Linked DNA regions of Homo sapiens: all the other regions are linked to region 5. The links are contacts of gene promoters, found by promoter capture Hi-C in blood cells and fetal thymus (Javierre and others, 2016). All regions are on one chromosome and are shown on one strand. The core of a region is centred on a gene start or on the middle of the fragment in contact, and the rest is flanking DNA. Distances in the headings are between cores, read along the strand shown. Region 1 has its middle 17 kb from the start of C10orf67. Region 2 has its middle 19 kb from the start of OTUD1. Region 3 holds the start of C10orf67 (chromosome 10 open reading frame 67). Region 4 has its middle 35 kb from the start of C10orf67. Region 5 holds the start of ARL5B (ARF like GTPase 5B). Region 6 overlaps LOC107984215 (a long non-coding RNA gene). Region 7 has its middle 7.8 kb from the start of OTUD1.

What was found. The method cuts DNA at HindIII sites, captures the fragments that hold promoters and counts their contacts. A CHiCAGO score of 5 or more calls a contact.
Region 1: a fragment that was not itself captured here is called in contact with the fragment with the promoter of ARL5B in region 5 in 1 of 17 cell types (total CD4 T cells); the score reaches 8.4 in total CD4 T cells.
Region 2: a fragment that was not itself captured here is called in contact with the fragment with the promoter of ARL5B in region 5 in 1 of 17 cell types (total B cells); the score reaches 15.5 in total B cells.
Region 3: a contact is called between the fragment with the promoter of C10orf67 here and the fragment with the promoter of ARL5B in region 5, in 1 of 17 cell types (naive CD8 T cells). The highest score is 6.2, in naive CD8 T cells.
Region 4: a fragment that was not itself captured here is called in contact with the fragment with the promoter of ARL5B in region 5 in 1 of 17 cell types (naive CD8 T cells); the score reaches 6.7 in naive CD8 T cells.
Region 6: a fragment that was not itself captured here is called in contact with the fragment with the promoter of ARL5B in region 5 in 2 of 17 cell types (activated CD4 T cells and total CD4 T cells); the score reaches 9.5 in activated CD4 T cells.
Region 7: a contact is called between a fragment that was not itself captured here and the fragment with the promoter of ARL5B in region 5, in 2 of 17 cell types (monocytes and total CD4 T cells). The highest score is 8.9, in monocytes.

Annotation. Positions count from the first base shown.
Region 1 is chr10:23,359,975-23,362,809 of GRCh38, reverse strand. No RefSeq gene overlaps it. Among named protein-coding and RNA genes, the nearest start is that of C10orf67, 17 kb to the right of the region's middle. The HindIII fragment of the contact is 329 bases long and covers 1,228-1,556 here.
Region 2 is chr10:23,456,908-23,460,047 of GRCh38, reverse strand. No RefSeq gene overlaps it. Among named protein-coding and RNA genes, the nearest start is that of OTUD1, 19 kb to the right of the region's middle. The HindIII fragment of the contact is 2,672 bases long and covers 254-2,925 here.
Region 3 is chr10:23,343,516-23,346,282 of GRCh38, reverse strand. It overlaps C10orf67 (chromosome 10 open reading frame 67), which reads left to right and starts at 1,486. Exons shown (of 16, transcript NM_001371909.1): 1 at 1,486-1,714. The coding sequence starts at 1,509. It overlaps C10orf67-AS1 (C10orf67 antisense RNA 1), which reads right to left and starts at 2,326. Exons shown (of 2, transcript NR_155752.1): 1 at 2,193-2,326; 2 at 1,122-1,859. RefSeq lists a silencer at 69-363. The HindIII fragment of the contact is 9,174 bases long and covers 1-2,767 here.
Region 4 is chr10:23,378,459-23,381,285 of GRCh38, reverse strand. No RefSeq gene overlaps it. Among named protein-coding and RNA genes, the nearest start is that of C10orf67, 35 kb to the right of the region's middle. The HindIII fragment of the contact is 6,053 bases long and covers 1-2,827 here.
Region 5 is chr10:18,658,007-18,660,853 of GRCh38, reverse strand. ARL5B (ARF like GTPase 5B) reads right to left here and starts at 1,423. Exons shown (of 6, transcript NM_178815.5): 1 at 1,171-1,423. The coding sequence starts at 1,216. It also overlaps a transcript of NSUN6 not described here. RefSeq lists a silencer at 1,255-1,334 and enhancers at 1,645-1,774, 2,475-2,594. The HindIII fragment of the contact is 6,724 bases long and covers 1-2,380 here.
Region 6 is chr10:23,089,197-23,092,104 of GRCh38, reverse strand. All of the region lies in intron 1 of LOC107984215 (a long non-coding RNA gene), which reads left to right. Among named protein-coding and RNA genes, the nearest start is that of MSRB2, 4.9 kb to the left of the region's middle. The HindIII fragment of the contact is 948 bases long and covers 952-1,899 here.
Region 7 is chr10:23,429,800-23,432,770 of GRCh38, reverse strand. No RefSeq gene overlaps it. Among named protein-coding and RNA genes, the nearest start is that of OTUD1, 7.8 kb to the left of the region's middle. RefSeq lists an enhancer at 1-614. The HindIII fragment of the contact is 5,764 bases long and covers 1-2,971 here.

The DNA.
Region 1 (2,835 bases), core at 143-2,642, 4.7 Mb before region 5:
AAATGATCCTTCCCACTTCAGCCTCTCAAAGTCCTGGGATTACAGGCATGAGTCACAATGCCCAGCCTTCCCTTTCTTAAGCCTTCCTCAGTTACCCTTTCTAAGTGTGTCATCTGTTTCCTGATGGGACCTTGCCTGGTACTAGGGCCATCTGAGGTTGGAGATCACAATTTATGGTAAAATCAATAGGTCTTGTGGTTTGACTTCCCTTGCTGTACCAAGATGCCCAGGTGTAAACAGAGAAAGCAAGTTATAGTTTAGCCAGCTGCATACACCATGAGGAGAGTCAAGTGAGCTACCAAATTGGCAGCTAATATTGAAATGATGTAAGCTGATGATGGAGGAAGTGAAGAAAGGATATGGTAGAGGGCCTGGGAGGGAGCAGAGGAGTTATCCTGCTCCTTACTGGAGGATCTGGCGGATCAAAAGGCAGGGACCCTGGAGTGGGCAGGAGAAGATGAACCACAAACTAGAGGTTGAGAAAGCATGGTCAGAGAGTGAGATACTTGAATTAGTGAAAACAGAACTGGTCAGACAGAGCTGAAACCCATTTAGGGCCTTTATATGTCCCCAGGGCAATTACTATGAACAGGGGACACTACACAGGGAAATTAAAGAAGAAAAATATTGTTCTCCTCTCTGGAGGACTTAACAGTTGAACTAGGAAGGCAGATGAACAGTGCACATAAAATGCCAACTGAATGGAACAGAGTATAAAAAGATGTTCAGAGGAGGAAGCCTCCCCCAAGGCTGGCCCATTCTGAAAGATGTGGATGTCTTAGTCCCTTGTCTGTTGCTTATAACGGAATACTTGAAACTGGGTAATTTATAAAGAAAAGGAATTTATTAATTTATTTCTTACAGTTGTGAAGACTGGGAAGTTCAAGGTTGAGGGACTGCATCTGGTGAGGACCTTCATGCTTGTGGCAGGGGGACTTCCTGCAGAGCCCCAGGGAGATGCAGGACATCAAATGATGAGGAGGCTGAGCGTGCTTGCTCAATTCCCCCTTCTTCTTCTTATAAAGCCACTAGTGCCTCTCCTCTGATAACCTATTAATTCATGAACCCTCTAATCTATTAATCCATTTTTATGACCAGAGCCTTTATGACCCAATCATCTCTAAAAGGCCCCACCTCTCAATAATGGGATTTACGTTTTAACATGACTTTTGGAGGGGACAAACTTTCAAACCATAGCAGTGGAGGAGGTAGGACTCGATAAAAGCTTTGAAAGAAGGGAGCCTTTGGGTCTGAGAGAGCTGGGTCACTTTAGGCAGGGAGGTTGTGTGAGCTACAGGGCCAGGCATGCGCAAGGAGTTTTGGAATGAACCAGATTAGTAGGAGGGCAGAGTCTGTGGAGAGGAACACAAAAAGAAAAAACCAAGAGATGTGTCAGGGGCCCCCAAGACCATCTCTAGAATTGATGACTTTCTAGAAGGATTCACAAGACTCAGAAAACAGTCATACTCACAGCTGTGATCCATTCCAGCAAAAGCATGCAAAACAAAATCAGCAAAATGCATGGGGCAAAGTCAGGAGGAAACCAGACACAAGCTTCCAAGAGTCCTCTTGGAAGTTACCAGGATGTAGTTAATTCCTACAGCAGCAAATTATGACAACACCTATGAAGTGTTGTCTACCAGTACCAGTCTCATTAGTGACTCAATGTTCAAGATTTTTATTGAGAGCTTGTCACCTAGGGACCCACTTTCTAGCAGTACAGAAATTCCAGACTCCAGGAGGGAAAGCAGGTGTTCAGCAGGAACCACACTGATTGCACAGTTTAAGCATATTGAGCACCACTTCTCAGATAGGGAACGGCAGGAGCCCTTCCCAAATCCAGGTTTCCTGGTGCCAGCCAAGGGCCAACCTTGCAAGCAAGCCTTTCTAAGGGTAGCAGTCTCAGAACTGGTGCATTAAACTCTTCTCCACAAGGAGTTAGTAAGGGATTGTCCTAGGAGGACTTTAGACACTAGCTCAAGGGGATTGGGCTTCATCCTGTGTACCGGATGAAAGGCTATACATTAGAAAGACTCATGGGAAAAAGGGTGGGCCAGTCTGGAAGTGATGTGTAGCATGTTGAAGTAAGAATCACTGGAAGAGGCCAGGTGTGGTGGATCCGCGACCGTAATTCCAGCACCTTGGGAGGCTGAGGCAGGAGGATCACTTGAACCCAGGAGTTCAACAGTGGGGCAACAAAGCAAGACCCCATCTCCACAAAAATAAAAAATCATAAAAATAATTTTTAAAAAGAATGATTGGAAGAAAGAAAAGGCAAGAGAGGAGAGCAAATGGCTGAGCCTGAATGGTGGTGGTTAGCATGGGGACAGTTGTTCATGTTTGGAAGATCCCCAGTAATAGGGGGCTCAGAGAGGTGCTGAGTCCTAGAGTAGAACCAAGTTATTAAGCAGAAAATATAGGAAGAAAAACTTAGACTGAATTCTAATTTTACCAGGACCTCCAGACACTTGACCCTGGGGATCACCCCCCACAGGGAATGGGTGGGACTTAAGGCCAGCACATTTGCATCGATGATAACAGTAACTCACACCTACATAGCACTTTGGAGTTTACAAAGTGTTTTTTGCATATACTGCATTCTAAGGGCAGGTAGTCAACTTGTATAGCTCATAGAGCTGAGACGTGCCAGGGCCAGACCTGAGCTCTGGGTTGTAGCAGGAGCAAAGAGGATTTTCAAAGTTATTTCCAAAAAAGAGTCCCTATTGGAAGCACCGATTCTAGTACTGCTGTGTAAGGTTTTCCCTCAATGGTGGGTATGCTGAGGGCCCACCCTTGCACCAGCTCAGCCTCTGTCTGCCATGCTTCAGAGCATTT
Region 2 (3,140 bases), core at 340-2,839, 4.8 Mb before region 5:
ATCGCTGGATATGTTTTGCATGCTAGGAAGAATAAGAACAACATTTAAATAAAAGCAGAGACATGTGGAGAGGTAACCCAGCGAAGAGATGGACTTGGAACATGGAAGACCTGTGTCTTAGCCTGTTTTGCTTTGCTATAAAGGAATACCTGAAGCTGGTAATGTATAAAGAAAAGAGGTTTGTCTCATGGATCTGCAGGCTGTACAGAAAGCACACCAACAGCACCTGCTTCTGTCAAGGACCCAGGAAGCTTCCACTCATGGCAGAAGGTGAGGGGGTGGCAGGGGTGTCACATGGCAGAGAGGAAGCAATAGAGGGGAGGGAGGTGCCAGGCTCTTTTCAACAATCAGATCTCTTAGATGTACATATTTCAGTGTGCAAAACAATAAAAAATTTAAAAAGACAAAAGAAAAAACAATCAGATCTCATGGGAACTAACAGAGTGAGAACTCACTTGCATGAGATTGACACCAAGCCATTTATGAGGGATCTGCCCCTGTGACCCAGACACCTCCCACTGTAATCGCCCAAGGGGTTCACCTTGCCCGCTGCCTAGACAGAGCTGATTCATCAAGACAAGGGAATTGCAATCGACAAAGAATAATTCACGCAGAGCCAGCTGTGCAGGAGACCGGAGTTTATTATCACTCAAATCGGTCTCCCAGAGCATTAGGGGAGCAGAGTTTTTAAGGATAACTTGGTGGGTGGGGGGAAGCCAGTGAGCCAGGAGTGCTGACTGGTCAGAGATGAAATCATAGGGAGTCGGAGCTGTTTTCTTGTGCTCAGTTAGTTCCTGGGTGGGGGCCACAAGATCAGATGAGCCAGTTTATTGATCTGGGTGGGGCCAGCTGATCCATCAAGTGCAGGGTCTGCAAAATATCTCAAGGGCTGGTCTTAGAAGCACTTTAGGGAGGGTCAGAATCTTGTAGCCTCCAGCTGCATGACTCCTAAACAATAGTTTCTAATTTTGTGTCTAATGTTAATCTTACGAAGGCAATCTAGTCCCCAGGCAAGAAGGAAGTCTGCTTTGGGAAAGCGCTATTACCGTCTTTGTTTAAATTATAAACTAACTTTCTCCCAAAGTTAGTTCAGCCTACGCCCAGGAATGAACAAGGACAGCTTGGAAGTTAGAAGCAAGATGGAGTCAGTTAAGTTAGATCGCTCACTGTCTCAGTCATAGTTTCGCAAAGGCGGTTTCACCACTAGGCCTCACCTGCAACATTTTGGGATCAAATTTCAACAGGAGATTTGGAGGGGACAGATACTCAAACTACATCAACCTGATTCTAAGCCCTGAGGTCTTGGTTTCTGTAGTTTTCTCTTCCACTCTGTAAGCTATGCTAGGATCCCACTCAGCAACTTGGATCAATAGATTTCCAATCCTTATTTTGTTTGTTCTTACAAAGCCAGTTTCCATGAAGTTTCTGGCATTTGCACCCTAAAGAATTCTGAATAATTCCCCACTCTTCATCTTTAAGAAGCAGAGTGAAGCTGACCTTCCCCATAATGTTGTCTTCAGTAGCATTGGAGAGGTGGCCAAGGGCAGCTCTTAGGACCTGGCAATTGGCTCTTCCCCTGGAAGGTTCTACAATGCTCAGAATTCACTATCTTCTCTGCATATATATACATGTGTAAATATGGACTTATTTACATGCACAAGAATCAAATTGAATAAATTTATTTCATCTTGGTATTTCTCATCCGATGAAGACATCCATGTTCATGAAACCACCACACAGGGTTGGCAAGAATTGCACTCAGGGTTCTGGACGGAAATATAGTTATAATTAAGCATTCATCAGACTGCACTCTGGCTCACTTCCTTGTTGCTAAAAGTCACGTACCACTGGATCCTGACCATCTGCAACCCTGTTGTTTTTATAGCTAGGATCTCTGACATTAGGGTCATAAGACTGTAAGAATTGATTTGTATCCCCATTGTTCCTATACACAGGATCTCTGACATTAGAATCATAAGGCTTTTGTTTAAGGATTGCTTAAGATGTTTTTCAGATCCATGAATTTCGGCAACCAATTTGAAGACTCACACAGAGGAATGGAATCAGCATGAGAATACAACTTCCTCATCTCCCTGTTCCATGACGCCCTGTGTTCTTCAACCCATCAATGATCCCCACACTTTGGCCCACTCCAAAACCCTTAGAAACTCTAACCCCAAATTCCTTGGGGAGACAGACTTGAGGTTTCTCCCCATCTCTTGGTTCACTGACCCTATGATTAAACCTGTTTCTCTGCTGCAACCCAGTGTCTTGATGTATTGACTTGCTGTATGTATCAGGCAACAAACCTGTCAGGCCTCTGAGCCCAAGCCAAGCCATCACATCCCCTGTGACTTGCACGTATACATCCAGATGGCCTGAAGTAACTGAAGATCCACAAAAGAAGTAAAAATAGCCTTAACTGATGACATTCCACCATTGTGATTTGTTCCTGCCCCACCCTAACTGATCAATGTACTTTGTAATCTCCCCCACTCTTAAGAAGGTTCTTTGTAATTCTCCCCACTCTTGAGAATGTACTTTGTAAGATCCACCCCTACCCGCAAAACATTGCTCTTAACTTCACTGCCTATCCCAAAACCTACAAGAACTAATGATAATCCACCACCCTTTGCTGACTCTCTTTTCGGACTCAGCCCACCTGCACCCAGGTGAAATAAACAGCCATGTTGCTCACACAAAGCCTGTTTGGTGGTCTCTTCACATGCACGTGCATGAAAAAACCTATTATGGTTATGTTCATACTATTCATAATATTTATGATTTTATGAATTTTCATCATACTTCTTATTCATCTTATCTCTCTTAATACTTCTTATTCATCTTATCTCTCCTAATCTTTCTATATTTCACAGAGAATTTGCTCACCCACTGAGAGTCATAAGGTCTTCCTTAGTTCAAGCTTTCCTAAACCTAGCTGATCATCAAAACCACCTGGGGAGGCTCAAAAATATAATGCCCATTTCCCACTCCAGTGCTAAATCTCATGGGGCCATTCTCTGTGCGCGCGCGCGCGCGCGCGCACACACACACACACACACACACACACACACACACACAGACATCCATACCCTAGTGAAACTAATGGTCTCTATCTATGAGGGTTTTCATTGCCCTGA
Region 3 (2,767 bases), core at 237-2,736, 4.7 Mb before region 5:
TTTTATAAGCCGGAACACCTGTGAGATAAAATACAGGTAACTGACAAGAAGAGAAGTATTATGTAGTTAACGGTTTCAAAAACAATCATCATCATAGCGTGGTCTCTTAGACACTGAAATCTGAAACTCCTTGATATGCTATAGCAAGGTTTCAAACAAAGATGTTCTGTTCAATGCATGTTTTTGTGGGATGGCGTAACTATGCAGACTATATCAGTCAACAAATGCTGTACAGAGCTGACCAATGACTCATGAAATCTTCTGTGCGATCTCTCTCCTCAGTTTCAAACGATTCATTTATAATTGCACTAGGAAAATAGCCAACAGCTTGTCACATTCTTTACACTGTCTTGGCCCAGCTCTAAACAGATAGGTTTTGAAATTTTAACTTAAAATTTTAATCTTTATTTTAAAACATGTATATACATTGTGGTAAAATATCACTTAGGAAAAAGAAAAGTTATTGTAGATATATAAATTTCTTTCTTTTAAAATACCTTTTGATTATATAATAAAAATTCCCCAAATAAAGTCTGAAGTTAGAGTTTGTAATTAAAAACCTCCAAAGAGTAAAAGTAACTCTTTTTCTCTTCTCTCTTCATCTCCCCCCCAAAAAATAAGCCTTCACAGAAGATGATTTTGGCATTGGTTATGATGTTTTATTGGCATTTGGGGCTTTTAATCTTTGTCTTTAAACATAATAGTAGTGATAATGCTACAGTGCTTTTCTTTTCCTGTTTTGAGCTTCTAAATCCAGCTAAGTTATTTTCACTTACTGTTACAAGACAGAGAAGAGGCCGGGCTCTGTGGCTCACGCCTGTTATCTAGCACTTTGGGAGGCCGAGGGGGGCAGATTGCCTGAGCTCAGGAGTTAGACTAGCCTGCACAACGCGGTGAAACCCCGTCTCTACTAAAAATACAAAAAATTAGCCTGGCTTGGTGCTGTGTGCCTGTAGTCCCAGCTGCTCGGGAGGCTGAAGCAGGAGAATTGCTTGAACCCGGGAGGCGGAGGTTGCAGTGAGCCCAGATCGCGCCACTGCACCCCAGCCTGGGCGACAGAGCGAGACTCCGGCTCCAAAAAATAATAATAATAATAATAAGAGAGAGGAGAAAAAACTTATTTTTCTGTAGATAATATATTGAAATGCAGATGTAGTATAGACAGTTCTAAACCAGACAATGACATTTTAAAAATAAATTTAGCCAGTCGTTTACAGAAAAACAATGACATACTGATATTAGAATAGGTGTCTCCTATTAGTTGACAATGAGTGATACATAATTTAAAACTAAGGATGACAACAGTTTCACTATTAACTCTTATTATTGTAGAAACCTGGTAAAATTGAATTCCACACTAGATGGTATAGTTTAAGACTTAACGCCTCACATTCTGACCTCATTAAATAGAAATCTGTTTAATCTCTGCAAGGAAATATTTTGTCCAGGAACGCCTACGTTTGTGGCAGGTGGAGACAGCTTATTAGGCAGCCTGCTCTCCTCTTATGATGGCCTTGGTCCGGGATCGCAGGGCTCATTATGTCATGAGCATAGTTATTAGATGGGTTCACTGCTTTTCCTCCTCCTTGAGGGGGACCTTTGGCACACGCTGGGAGGCCATGAAAGCCAAGGCCACCGAGCTGCGGGTCTGCTGCGCGCGTAGGAAGCGAGAAGCTCGGGAATTCAAGCCCCCGCAAATGCGCGGGTCCACGAGGTAGGCTGAGCTCCGCGCCTGGGTAGAGGAGGAAGCGAGCAGGGTCCAGGGGCACGGCGGGAGGCTGAAGGGTTATTTACGGGGGTGCAGCTTTCCTCTGGGGTATCGCAGCAGCCTCCAGGCTGTGGGAGTCTTGTGGGGAAGCCTTGAGGCAGGCGGGACAGTGAAAGCGCAGCGGGGTGGCTTGGGAGCCCGCCCCGCCTCCTCCTCCCCCTCTCCACTCCCCTCCTCCCGCGCGTGCTCCCTCCCCATCCTCCTTTCCATCTCTTCCCCCTTCCCCCACTCCTTCCCCCTCTTCCTTCCCTCCACACCTCCTCTACTTCCTTTCCCTCTCCCCTTCCCCCCCATCCCCAACCTTCTCCCTATCCCCCTCCTCCCCATCTCCTTCCCCCTTCCCCTCCCCACCCCGTTCCCCACCCCCCTCCACTCGCGGCCCTCCCCGGCCCCCGCCCACGGATTCCCGCGCTTCGCCGGTTACCTGGGAGTCGCCATGGCAACGGACGCCGGGTTCCCGACTCCGACTCAGGAGAGCGAGCGGCTCCGCGGGAGGCGCACGTCCGGGGCTGCAATGGCGAACTGGGGCGACTCGCCTGAGACAGAGGAGGGCCGGAAGATCATGGAGGGCCTCGAGGCCTCTATTGAACAATTCCAGTTCAACCCCAGGTGACCAGCGGGAGAGGCAGTCCCCGCCGGCCCGCCCCGGAGCCCTCGCGCCCCGGCCCTCGCTCAACGCCTTTCCAGGCCCCTTGCTCCAGCCGCTGGGCTTCAGTTTTTTGTTTGTTTTTCGAGGGGATCACTGTCCGAAAAGAGCTGCAGTTTTCACTTCTTCAAGTGTATAGCTGGACACTAAGAGCACGGACTCTGGAGCCAGACTGCCCGGATTCCAGAATCTTGGCGACCCTCTCACAGGGGCCGTGAGTTAGGCGACTGACTGCTCTGTGCCTCAGTTTTCTCAGCGGGAAATAATCGTTCATGAATGATGAAGAGTAGTGCCTGCTTCATAGATCATAGTGAATATTAAATGAGCTAATCTAGGACACAGTACCCGTCTTA
Region 4 (2,827 bases), core at 80-2,579, 4.7 Mb before region 5:
TGTTACATCCAATGCAAAATGAAAGGCAGAGCCCCTTGTTCAAAAAGCAGGACAAAAGTACTTTTAAGGAACTAAAATATAAAGCTCTTTCCTTTCTTCCATGGTCTTTCAGTTTGTTCTGGTGTGTTTTATTTGCTATTTGATGCTATTCCAGGTAAAGAAAAATTGAAATTCGATTTTCAGCAAGAAACGGGGTCTTGCTGTATCACCCAGGATGATCTCGAACTCCTGTTCTCAAGCGATCCTTCTGCCTCGGCCTCGGGAAGTGCTGGGATTACAGGCGTGAGCCACTGCGCCTGGCCTAAAAAAAATTTTTTTAATTAAAATTATTAGTATACATTTTACCATTTGTCTTGTGCAAAGTCAATCTTTCTTCTTTCTTCCAGGGGGGACGCTTGAATTGATTTTATGGAGCCGTAAGGCATTAAAGATACCTTTTTGTCCATTTTATAACATGTTATCGTTTCTTCTTCTTTGTTTTTAGCTCTAAAACAAATCCTAAAGTCCGTAATTACCAAGTAAGTTACTACTTTTATAAGTTCTCATTTAATACTGCCCTATGTTTTCTAAAAGTTCTACAGTGAGCAATCATTAATTTCTTATAATTAGATCTAAAAAAATAAAAATAGCAGCCAGGCGCGGTGGCTCACGCCTGTAATCCCAGCACTTTGGGAGGCCGAGGCAGGTGGATCACGAGCTCAGGAGATCCAGACCGTCCTGGCTAACACAGTGAAACCCCATCTCTACTAAAAATACAAAAAATTAGCCAGGCATGGTGGCGCGCACACCTGTAGTCCCAGCTACTCGGGAGGCTGAGGCAGGAGAAGCTCTTGAACCCAGGAGGCAGAGGTTGCGGTGAGCCAAGATCACGCCATTGTACTCCAGCCTGGACAACAAGAGTGAAACTCCGTCTCAGATGAATACATAAATACATAAATAAATTAAAAAAGGCTACTCTGCCTATGGGGTAGTTCTGCTCTGCCTATGGAGCAGCCACCCTTTTATAAAAAATGAAAATAAAAAATAATAACAATAAATTTTGTTTTGATAAATGAGTAACAGAAAAGCCCTTCCCTCAACCCTTGTTTCTTGGTCATCTGTACTACCTATTTTTCTTTTTGTTAAAATTGACATAAATTCACATACCATAATGTAATGCCTGTTTTCAATGAAAATATGAGAACATTAACTTATATGTAGAATCATTGAAATTATATAATTCATCTTTTTTAACTGCTACATGCAGATATATTTTGTTCTTACCAGAACTGCATAAAACTAACTCAAACGTTTTTGTTTCACTTCTTAATATGTGCACATTCTGTCAATACTCTCTTCAGTTTACTGATTAGTAAGGAAAGACTAAAAGGAAAAGGAACTACGAGTTGCCCCATCTTCCCCTTTCCTTTAATGTCCTCATTGTTGAGGGTGTCAGCTAATATACGGAAATAATACAAGAAAGGATATGATGGAATTCATTGGTTATCCATATTTCTTAGAATGCTGTAGGGGAGCTACAATTTCTCCTTTTTCCTATTACCCAGCTAGTCCTAAGAATTAAACTGACATAAGACCAACTAACAGGAGAAAAGTATACAGATTTAATGTGGTAACATTTTCACAGGAGCTCCCACAAGAAAAATGAAGACCCAAAGAAGAAGTTAGGGACAAAAGCTATATACTGGGTTGGACCTAGAGGAGTAATTTGTGAAATGTGGCAAGACAAAGGGGTCTGGGCTAGGGCAGTTAATTGTTGAAAAGTGGCTAGGAAAACAAGGCATAGTTTAACAAGGTGTATTTGAACATATTTCTCTGGGCCTCAACTCCCTGATTCTGGTGATATCTTCCTCCTGGTATAGGGAAGACATCTTTTACATAGGAGTTTTAGTTACTGCTTTCAGGAAGAAAAAGAGAAGGTCAGCATGCCTTTCTTGCATCTGCTGCTTTTCAAGTGCCTGTAACTCAAAATAATCAGTATGTGAAAGTGGCATATTTCGGGGTAGCATGCTCTGAACCCTTTCAATGCCATGGCCATTGTCTGAACTGCATTGGAAGCAAGTTCTGGTCCTAAGAAAGTGTGGTCCACCAAGGCTGTCAGCACCTCTGCTTACTCAGTCCCAGATATAACATGCGTTGAGTCTTGCTCAACTCCCGTCCATGGTGGATTTGTCAAAATTCTGTGCTCATGGGCAGCACAAACACAACATGTGAGCTAGGGTGAACTGGAGCCCATGGTAGACATGCATATTTTGTGTATCTCCTCTGCTTCACACACATGTTCCATGGGCCCAGCAGAGTTCACTTAGAAAATACAAGGTGAAAGGTATAATTATGAAGGCCATGGAGCATTAAACCAAGCATGGTGCCCTAGTAAGCCTGGAGCCATGTGCGCCTGACAAGTCATGCTTCCATGATGCCACCCAGGGTGCAAAATGGAAAAAGAGATGTGATGGTTCCCACACCCATTTCTTCTCATTAGTAACATGGGACACACCTGTAGTGTTACAAGTCCAAGGGTGAGCTGGTTTTGTACCTTTCACTCAAGGGTCTTAATGAATTTAATTACATTCACTCAGTGACTTTTGTTTTTCCAAATCGACAGGTCTGAATCATGTTAGTCTGTTTTTAAATGGAAAGCCCTTCTGATAACTTGAATGCTTTGTCATGATCCCTTCCTGTAACTTCTCCAGGCTCACTTTTTTCCCCCCTAACCAAGGGCTGTGAATGTGGGAGCGCACTATCCTAGGCCAGGTGCAGAGACAAACTAGCTATCCTCTGTGCTATTCCATTTACTTGACTTTTGCACGGCAGCTGCACACTTTTTCAT
Region 5 (2,847 bases), core at 174-2,673:
AATAAAAATAATATTTTAAATGTATGGATAATACCCACAAAGTGTGAAGCTCTGCTCACTTTGAAATCATTTGATAAGTAATATTATCTGTGGTTACTGGATACAGGCATATACATATATATACACATGTGTGTGCCTGTATCTATATTTATAACCTTGAAAAAGACTGCTTTAGTGTTCTTATCAATCTACAGAACAAGTCAACTAAAGCCATTCCATTACCTCCACAACTTCTTAAATCCAGAAAAAGATTAGATACCTACATTAGCAGTAACAAATTGGTACCAACATAAAAGGAAATAAAACTGGCTTATTAACGATGCCCGGCTCTTAAATGTAAAATGAAACGAGTTGATTTTCAAAACTGGTTTCAATTACTAAGAAACCATTCTGTTCAAAGGACGCCTCAAACTTTAACTTATCGTCGGCCCCTTTTTTGGTCTGGGTGTTTTCTCTCTTCAGAAGACATCACATCTCATTCTGATTCAGAACAGGTTTTGCAACTTCTCGGCCCTTTGGACCTGCCACTTCCAGGTGTCTCATTACCTGTTACAGACTAATTACGGACACGTAACGTCTTACACAAAACCGAAAAGCATTTAGTTTCTGAACTAAATGCTTTAAAAAAAAAAGTTTACAATGAAGATGCTGGAAAACTCGTGCATCTGAATAGGACAACTCATTCCCAAGTCCTAGAGGAAAGGAGGCGAAATCAGAGTGAAAGTGCACTGGCTTACGGCTCAAACTGCAGGGCGGGAAAACAAAGCACCTACATTACTCAAAAAAAAAAAAGTTCTAGGTTTCTGGGCGGACACTTATCCTGGGGATACACATAGACACAAGCACGCTTCAATAAAGACGAGAAAGGCCCTCCATACGCCTCCTGGCATCATTAGCTGTATCCCGCTTTACTTCGCCAATATCCAAACATTCTCAGTTTGGATTCTGGGACGCCAAATACCTTCTCTTCTGCCTCCCTATTTCTCCCACACGTCAGGTCTCTCCTGTACGTCCTCCAGGTCTAAAACACTGAGTTTCTGCCCGCCCCCTGGCCTAAGTCCCTTCCTCCTCCGCGTCTCCGAACGCTCTGTCCCCTGTCTCCGGTGTCCCCATCGGCGGCGGGACCCTCTGCCTCGGATTCGAGCCGCCGCGCAGCTCCATTCTTCTCACCTTGGTTACAGAAGAGGCTCCACAGTTTGGCGAAGATCAGCCCCATCACGAGCACCGGGGCGGGCCGCGGGGTCCCTCGGCAGCAGGTGCCGCTGCGCCGGGTCCCCCACCGCGGCGCGGGCTGCGCGGAGCCGAGGAGAACCCGCCTGAGATCGCGCAGCGAGGGCACTGCTAGGCCGAGAAGCCTCGACCCGACCACTCAGAAGGCGCCGCGACGAATCCCCACCGGACAGCCCTTTGTTTCGAGCCCACTGAGCCCAACGCCGACCCGTAGTCCCCTCGGTCTGTACCCACCTACCTACCACAGCCTCTCCACAGCCCCAAGCCCCGCCTCCACCCCGCCTCCCCTCCGGATCCCAGGACCACCCATCGCCGGAAGCTAGGCGCGTGACGACGGCGCACTTACGGCAACCCACGCCTTCGACGTGGCGTTTTCTTCGGTTTCACTTCCGGTAGGAGAGTCCCAAACGGCCAGCGGCTGGGAATTTGCGGTATCGCGGGGGGGTGGGAAATTTCCCTTGGTGCGTGCTCCTTCTGATGTCAGCCTTCAAAACGTTTGTGGGACTCCCCTTTGATTTGAGTCTCTGCTGCTAGCAGCTGCTTCCCTGACCTCTAAAACCAGGAAAGACCATAGGTTCTCTAAGTGAGCAGCCGCCGTTTGCTGCTCTTAGAAAACTCACAGAAGTGAAGAGTGTTTCTTTCCTGACTTATTCCTGTTCCCCTAGGCAGGCGTGCTAGGGGTTAGGAGTTCTGCCGTGATTCTTCTTCATTCATTTATTAATCTATTCATTCACGTATTCATTCATTGGCTTATGCATTTATGTACTCATTGATTGATTGATCGATTGCAGACGAGGTCGGGCTGTGTTGCCCAGGGGGACTCAATTTCCTGGGCTCAAGCGATCTTCCTGCCTCGACTTCCCAAAGTGGTGGGATTGCAGGCTCAGCCACCGCGCCCGGCCCCTGTCGTGATTCTTAGTTCTGAAAAGAATTGATTGGGAGACGAGCCATGGAAGGCCTGGAGCCACAGAGTTCAGTTATGTGATTAATAATAACACATAATAATAACACATAGCACCCCTCTCCATTTTGCCAAGCATTAGGTATGTTCGTGGATCCCAGATCGAAGTCCACGCATAAGCCAATTCGCTGTGTAATTGTTTTCAATTCCACTTTCCATGGTTAGGTTCTAGCATTGAAAAGAAAAGCTTCACAGCCTGGCATGAAACGAAACTGAATGTCCTTGAAACCAGTTGACGGAGGAGCAAGCTTAAAATTTTTTTAGACTCTGACTTCAGTCAGATGGTTGGATTTTAACCTTGGCAACGTGGCCTTTTAACATGCCAAACTCTTGAGTTAACCTGTACAAGGAGAATGTATGACTTACGTCCTCCCAGTGCTATGGTTTAAAGACCCTTTAAGACTTAGATGCAGGATAATATGCTCCAACGTTACAACATTAAAGGCAAGTTTCAACCTCCTATGTAGAGGAAAAAGAATGTACTGACCCTATGCAAACTTAACTTTCATGACTATCAGTTGGACCATAAATGTGAATAATTTTGTGTTTGTGTAAGTAATGGCTTAAAAGGACATTTTTAGTCCTAGCTTCATTATCACAAAACAAACTTTAGATTCCGTAACAGCTTCTTCAATTGTTAGACATGGATGTAAACC
Region 6 (2,908 bases), core at 176-2,675, 4.4 Mb before region 5:
GAGGAAGTCCCTCCCTCCCTACCACCATTCTCCTTTACACCTGCTAGGAGGACCTTTACCTCATCTGTGATCAAGCCCTTACTGGTCTTAAAATGTCCCCTCTTCTCACCACCATTTATCTGAATCCAACTTAACCATCAAGGCCATGCATTAACCTCACATTCTTGGACACATGGTCTTAGCCTGAACAAAACTCTACTTTATGTTTTCCCTTTTACTTTGTACACTGAGTGGTAGAGACTATCATTTGCCTGGCCGATATCCACTCTCTCTACTTACAAACAGATCTTTGATTTTATTAAGAGTAGCAATATGCCTAGCTAAAATGTTACATCTGTCAGCTCCCTTGTAGTTGGTGGCAATCATATGATGCTGTTATGGGCAATGATAGGAGCAGACATCACTGGGAGCTACCAGGAAAACTAGTTAAAGAGGAGCTGGCTCAGCACTGGACTTTTGCTCTGTCTTTTGTTTCTGCTTGGAAATTAGTCATGATGGCTGGAGCACTGGCAATCTTCTGGTATACATGAAGATGAGACCCACATCTTGATTTTAAAGAAGTAGAAGACATGAAGGAGCCCAGGATTCTGAAGACAGTGTGGAGTCAATATGCTAGTCTTGGATTGCCTGCCTTCAGATTTCCAATTACATGAGAGACCAATAAATCTATATTTTGTTTAAATCACTGTTACTGGGATTTTCTGTTTCATGAAGTTGACACAGTGTATATCTGATGTCCTGAATTTGATTGTGAGAATCTTCAGGAAAGGCAAAATTCTATAACTTTGACTCTTTGTATATCCAACACACTTCTCTGCAAACTATAAATTTGATAATAAAATCCCTAAAAGATAGGATAGAATGACCAAAAAATGGGAGATAAGTGCAAAAGCCAATTTGCTTTTCCCTACCAAAAACCATTTGGGAAAGAATGAGGGACTGGAATAAGCTTTACACAATTAATCTGCACTGAAAATACTTTATCTGCTTCCATCTGCCCAAAGTTCAATGTCGATACTCATTTTTGTTTTACCTCAATCTAGAGAATTCCTAGAAACTAACCAACTGGAACATCTAATATATATAAAATATAGTTTTAAAGCTCTAAAGGCAGTGAATGAAGACTTAAATAAATGGTTCGATAGAAAAAAATAGCATGGGATAAGCTCTGGGTTCAATTTCTAGGTGTTCTCCTAAGCAGATACAGATGTTTTGGACAAACCAGTCTCTGGGCCTTGGTTTGATTATCTGGAAAATGACACGAATACAGGGGAGGGTGGCCTAGAACTAGAACTCAAATTATATCTCAACTCTCTTCAGTCTGTAATTATATGACGGGTGGTGAAAAATGGAAAGATACACTTGCTGACCAAAGAGCTGAAATTACGAAGGTTAAAATACATTCAACTTATAGATTTAAGCTATGTCACTTATAATCCCAATGGATTACTTTACAGGAATTGAAAAAATAACAACTGAAATAAATGTGGATAAAAATAGACTTTTATGTTAAAGATAATATTGGAGAAGTAGCCTCTCACATGTTAAAAGTGCTTATCAAGGAAGAGTAGATATGAAAACAGTGTTCTGATTGAAATAATAACCAAAAAATAGTCCAGAGAGATAAGAGGTTCCAGAAATTAATACATATTTAACCTATTAGAAACAAGGGGATATAAAATTATTCAGTATATTTTTTGTGGGAAAGTGACTATCAATACAGGGGAAGTAACCTTGGCGTCTAAGGCTTAGATGAATAATTCACTTCAAAAGAATTATTTTTTGAGTTAAAAGTAGTATGTGGATATGTGTATCATGTCAGAGCTCAGAGTACAATACCCCCCAAGTATGGTGCTCTGGTATGCTGAGCATTTTTGAATTAAATGAAATTGGAAAGCTTTAGAAGCTGCCTCAGAAACAACGACTTTCTAACTTTTTATTTCTTCCCCACAAGTGAAGAGAAGGGCTTTCTCCCACTGAGTCTTCCAAAAGAAGTGCAGTTGTCTTAAGATCTCTTTACTAGGAATCTTATCAGATAACCAGGAAAGATTAACTACTGGAGAAGAGGAAAGACTAAAAGTCATCACTATGCCCTGAAACACTTTTTATCTGTTCTTCTGATGGCACCTCTGAGAGATTACTTTATTATTTAAGATTTATTTAAGATTATTTAAATATTTACTATTTAAATAAAAATTAAATGCATAATAGGACAACCTTTGTTCACAGTACAGTTCTGCCCCTCACCTTCCCATAACTGTGGGTCCCATTCTTCTTCCGAAAAGAATAATTCAAAAACTACTGTCTGCTCTTTGGGCCTATTCAATTTTCCTGAAAATTATTTACAATCCCTCAAAATTGCCTAAGTTTCCGCCATCGCCCTCTTCCCTATGAAGAAGATATATAAGTTTCAACAATTTGGCCTTTCTTTGAGTCTCATATTTGTGGGGGTCTTGTGACCATGTGCACTTTAATACATTTGTATGCTTTTTCTTCTGCTACTCTATTGTCAGTTTATTTCAGCAGTCTCACTTCAGAGGGAAAGTTTAAACTTCCCTACCACACATACACAAACACACACACACACACACACACGAAATAAAACAATACTGCATACATCCATTTTGAAATAAAAATAATTTTTGGACAATAAAAGCAATAAAAGGAGTTAGCACTGAACAAATGATAAGGTTGACAGGTTCAAGTGAATGAAATTTAAGTACATACATACATACCACAAGATGAAGAACAAAAAATGATTACTCTCAAATTAGAAAAATTAAAATGATAAAAATACGAGAGTATTGTAATACACATAACAGTAAACATTTAACATTATATATATTAGGGAAATTAATATTATCTATATGGCCAATTTCAGGTCTGACTGGACAGATGGTTAAAGAAT
Region 7 (2,971 bases), core at 23-2,522, 4.8 Mb before region 5:
AACAGTAGACTAGAACCATCTTGTTCTGTGCTCTGTTGCCTGCTTCTAGTTGCCTTAACCGATACTATGGACAGGTCTGCTAACAGTAACTAGGCCTGCACAGGTTTAAATAGAAGTATAATCATATGTCCCTTGTTTGTAAATAGCTTAACATAAAGTAGGAAAAACAAGACACCCGCACACACCCAAACGTTGAATAACTGCAGTAAATGCAGAAATCTGTTACCAAGGATGATTCTAACATAACTCAGTTGGCTGTTTGTGTGGCAACATTTTAAAAATCCACAATCTTTGTAATGTTTACCTAGTAGCTAAATGTCTGTAAATAAGTGAACGTGATAACAATATGACTTACCCCTCCTAGAGACCATAAGGGTGTTTCTGTGGGGAGCAGGCAACAGCCACACCCCACCCTCCTTCTATATGGGTAGAAGGCCAGACTGAGAAACACACCCTTCATGACTAAGAGCTCAATTGTAAAAATGCCCAGATATTATAAAACTATTTTACCAAGACTTAAGGAAATGAGAAAAGAGGACCAGGCACAGTGGCTCATGCCTGTAATTCCAGCATTTGGGGAGGATGAGAGGGGAGGATTGCTTGAGACCAGGAATTCAAGACCAGCCTGGGCAACATGGCAAAATCCCATCTATACAAACAGTATAAAAATTAGCCGGACATGGTGATAAGTGCCTGTAGTCCCAGCTACTCAGGAGGCTGAGGCTGGAGGATTGCTTGAGCCCAGGAGGTTGAGGCTGCAGTGAACTATGATCATGCCACTGCACTCCAGCCTGGGTGGCCAAAAAGAAAAGGAAAGAAAAAGAAGAGAAAAGAGGATAGATATTAAGTTACTTTAATATTGCTTTTTATTTAATTTAAAAAAGTGTGTTAAAAAATTAAAGCAATGCACATGTGTAAAAATAGAAGTAAAATTCCTTTACATCCCATCCCATCTCCCTCATCTCCCACTCCAGTGGTAACTACTGTTTACATTTATTGTATATATTTTCAGACTTTTTAATACGCATATATAGATTATATATATCATACACATGTGAGCAAAAATTTGGCATTACAGGATTATATGGTACATATTTTCTCTGCACTATACTTTTTTCTTTACTTAATTAGTATATACTGGACACGTTTCATGTCACAATATGTAGCTCCACCTTATTCTTTTTTTGTTTTTGTATTTAATTTATTATTTATTTATTTCGAGACAGGGTCTTGCTCTGTCACTCAGGCTGTAGTGCAGTGGTGCAATCATGTATCACTGTAGCCTCAACCTCCTAGGGTCAACTGATCCTCCCACTTCAGCCTCCAGAGTAGCTGAGACTACAGGTGTGTGCCACCATGCCTGGCTAATTTTTTTTATTTTTAGTGGAGAGGAGGTCTCTCTATGTTGCCCAGGCTGGTTTTGAACTCCAGAGCTTGACCGATCCTCATACCTCAGTCTCTCAAAATGCTGGGATTACAGGCAGAGTTTCTGCTAATGAGGTGACTTAGGGTGGGACCCCTGATTAGCCCCAGGATGGGGCTGATCAACAGAAAGAGCAAGTGATTAGAGGATTAGAGGGTCGAAAGTTTCAGCCCCACCCACCAACTTCCAGGAAAGGGGTTGTGGGGGACACTGGAGATTAAACTTCATAAAAACTCTTGGACAATGAAAGCTCTATTCTCTCTCCTCCATACTTCAGCCTCTGTATCTTTTCATCTCTATTCTTTGTAATACTCTTCATTAATAATAATACACTAATAAATGCAATTATTTCTCTGAGTCCTGTGAACCATCCTAGCAAATTAATCAAACCAAAGTAGGGGATCATGGGACCCCCAGATTGCAACCAGTCGGTCAGAGGTATAGGTAACAACCTACTACTTGCAATTGATGTCTGAAGTGAGGTCAGTCTTGTGGGACAGAGCCCTCAACCTCTGGGATCTGACTCTAACTCCAGGTAGATAGTGTCAGAATTAAACTGAATTATAGGACACCTAGTTGGTGTCCACCACAGAACTGCTTGGTGTGTAGAGAAAAACCCCTACACCTGGTCACAGAAGTGTTCTGTGTTGAGTAGAAATTGCAGAGAAAAAATAATTGTTTCCCTTTCACAGGAACGTATTTTTTTCCTTAAGAATCTTCTTGATGGTTGAAATTATAAATGTAACTACTATGAAGCCAACACATTGTTTTAAATGTAAATAGTTTTTATGGGATTTATTATTATGAAAATAATACATGGTCATCACAAAAAAGTCGAAAGCTATAAATAAGCAGAAGAGAGAGAGAAACAATTTTTTAAAAATAGTCCTCCCAGGGTCTTGGTGTGGTGGTTTATGCCTATAATGACAGCACTTTGGGAGGCAGAGATGGGAGGATTGCTTCAGTCCAGGAGTTTGAGGCCAGCCTGGGCAATGTGGCAAGTCCCTGTCTCTACAAAAAAAACCTTAAAAATTAGCCGGATGTGGTGGCATGAGCCTCTTGTTCCAGCTACTCAGGAGGCTGAGGTGGGAGGATCCCCTGAGCCCAGGAAGTCAAGACTTCAGTGAGCCATGTTCCTGCCACTGCACTCCAGCCTGGGCAACAGAACAAGACTCTGTCTCAAAAACAAACAAAAAAACTCACCCAGGACTGGGCGCAGTGGCTTACATCTGTAATTCCAGCACTTCAGGAGGCAAAGGCAGAGGATCACTTGAGACCAGGAGTTTGAGATCAGCCTGGTCAACAGAGCGAGACCATGTCTCTACAAAAAAATTAAAAAATTAGCCAGGCATGGTGTGGCACACCTGTAGTCCCAGCTACTCAGGAGGCTGAAGCTGAAGAATAGCTGGAGCCCAGAAGGTGGAGGCTGCACTGAGCTAGGATCACACCACCGCACTCCAGCCTGGCAGATAGAGCCAGACGGTATCTCTTAAAAACAAAAACAAAAAAACACCACCTATAAATGTGACAACTTCTTCTTCAATTATA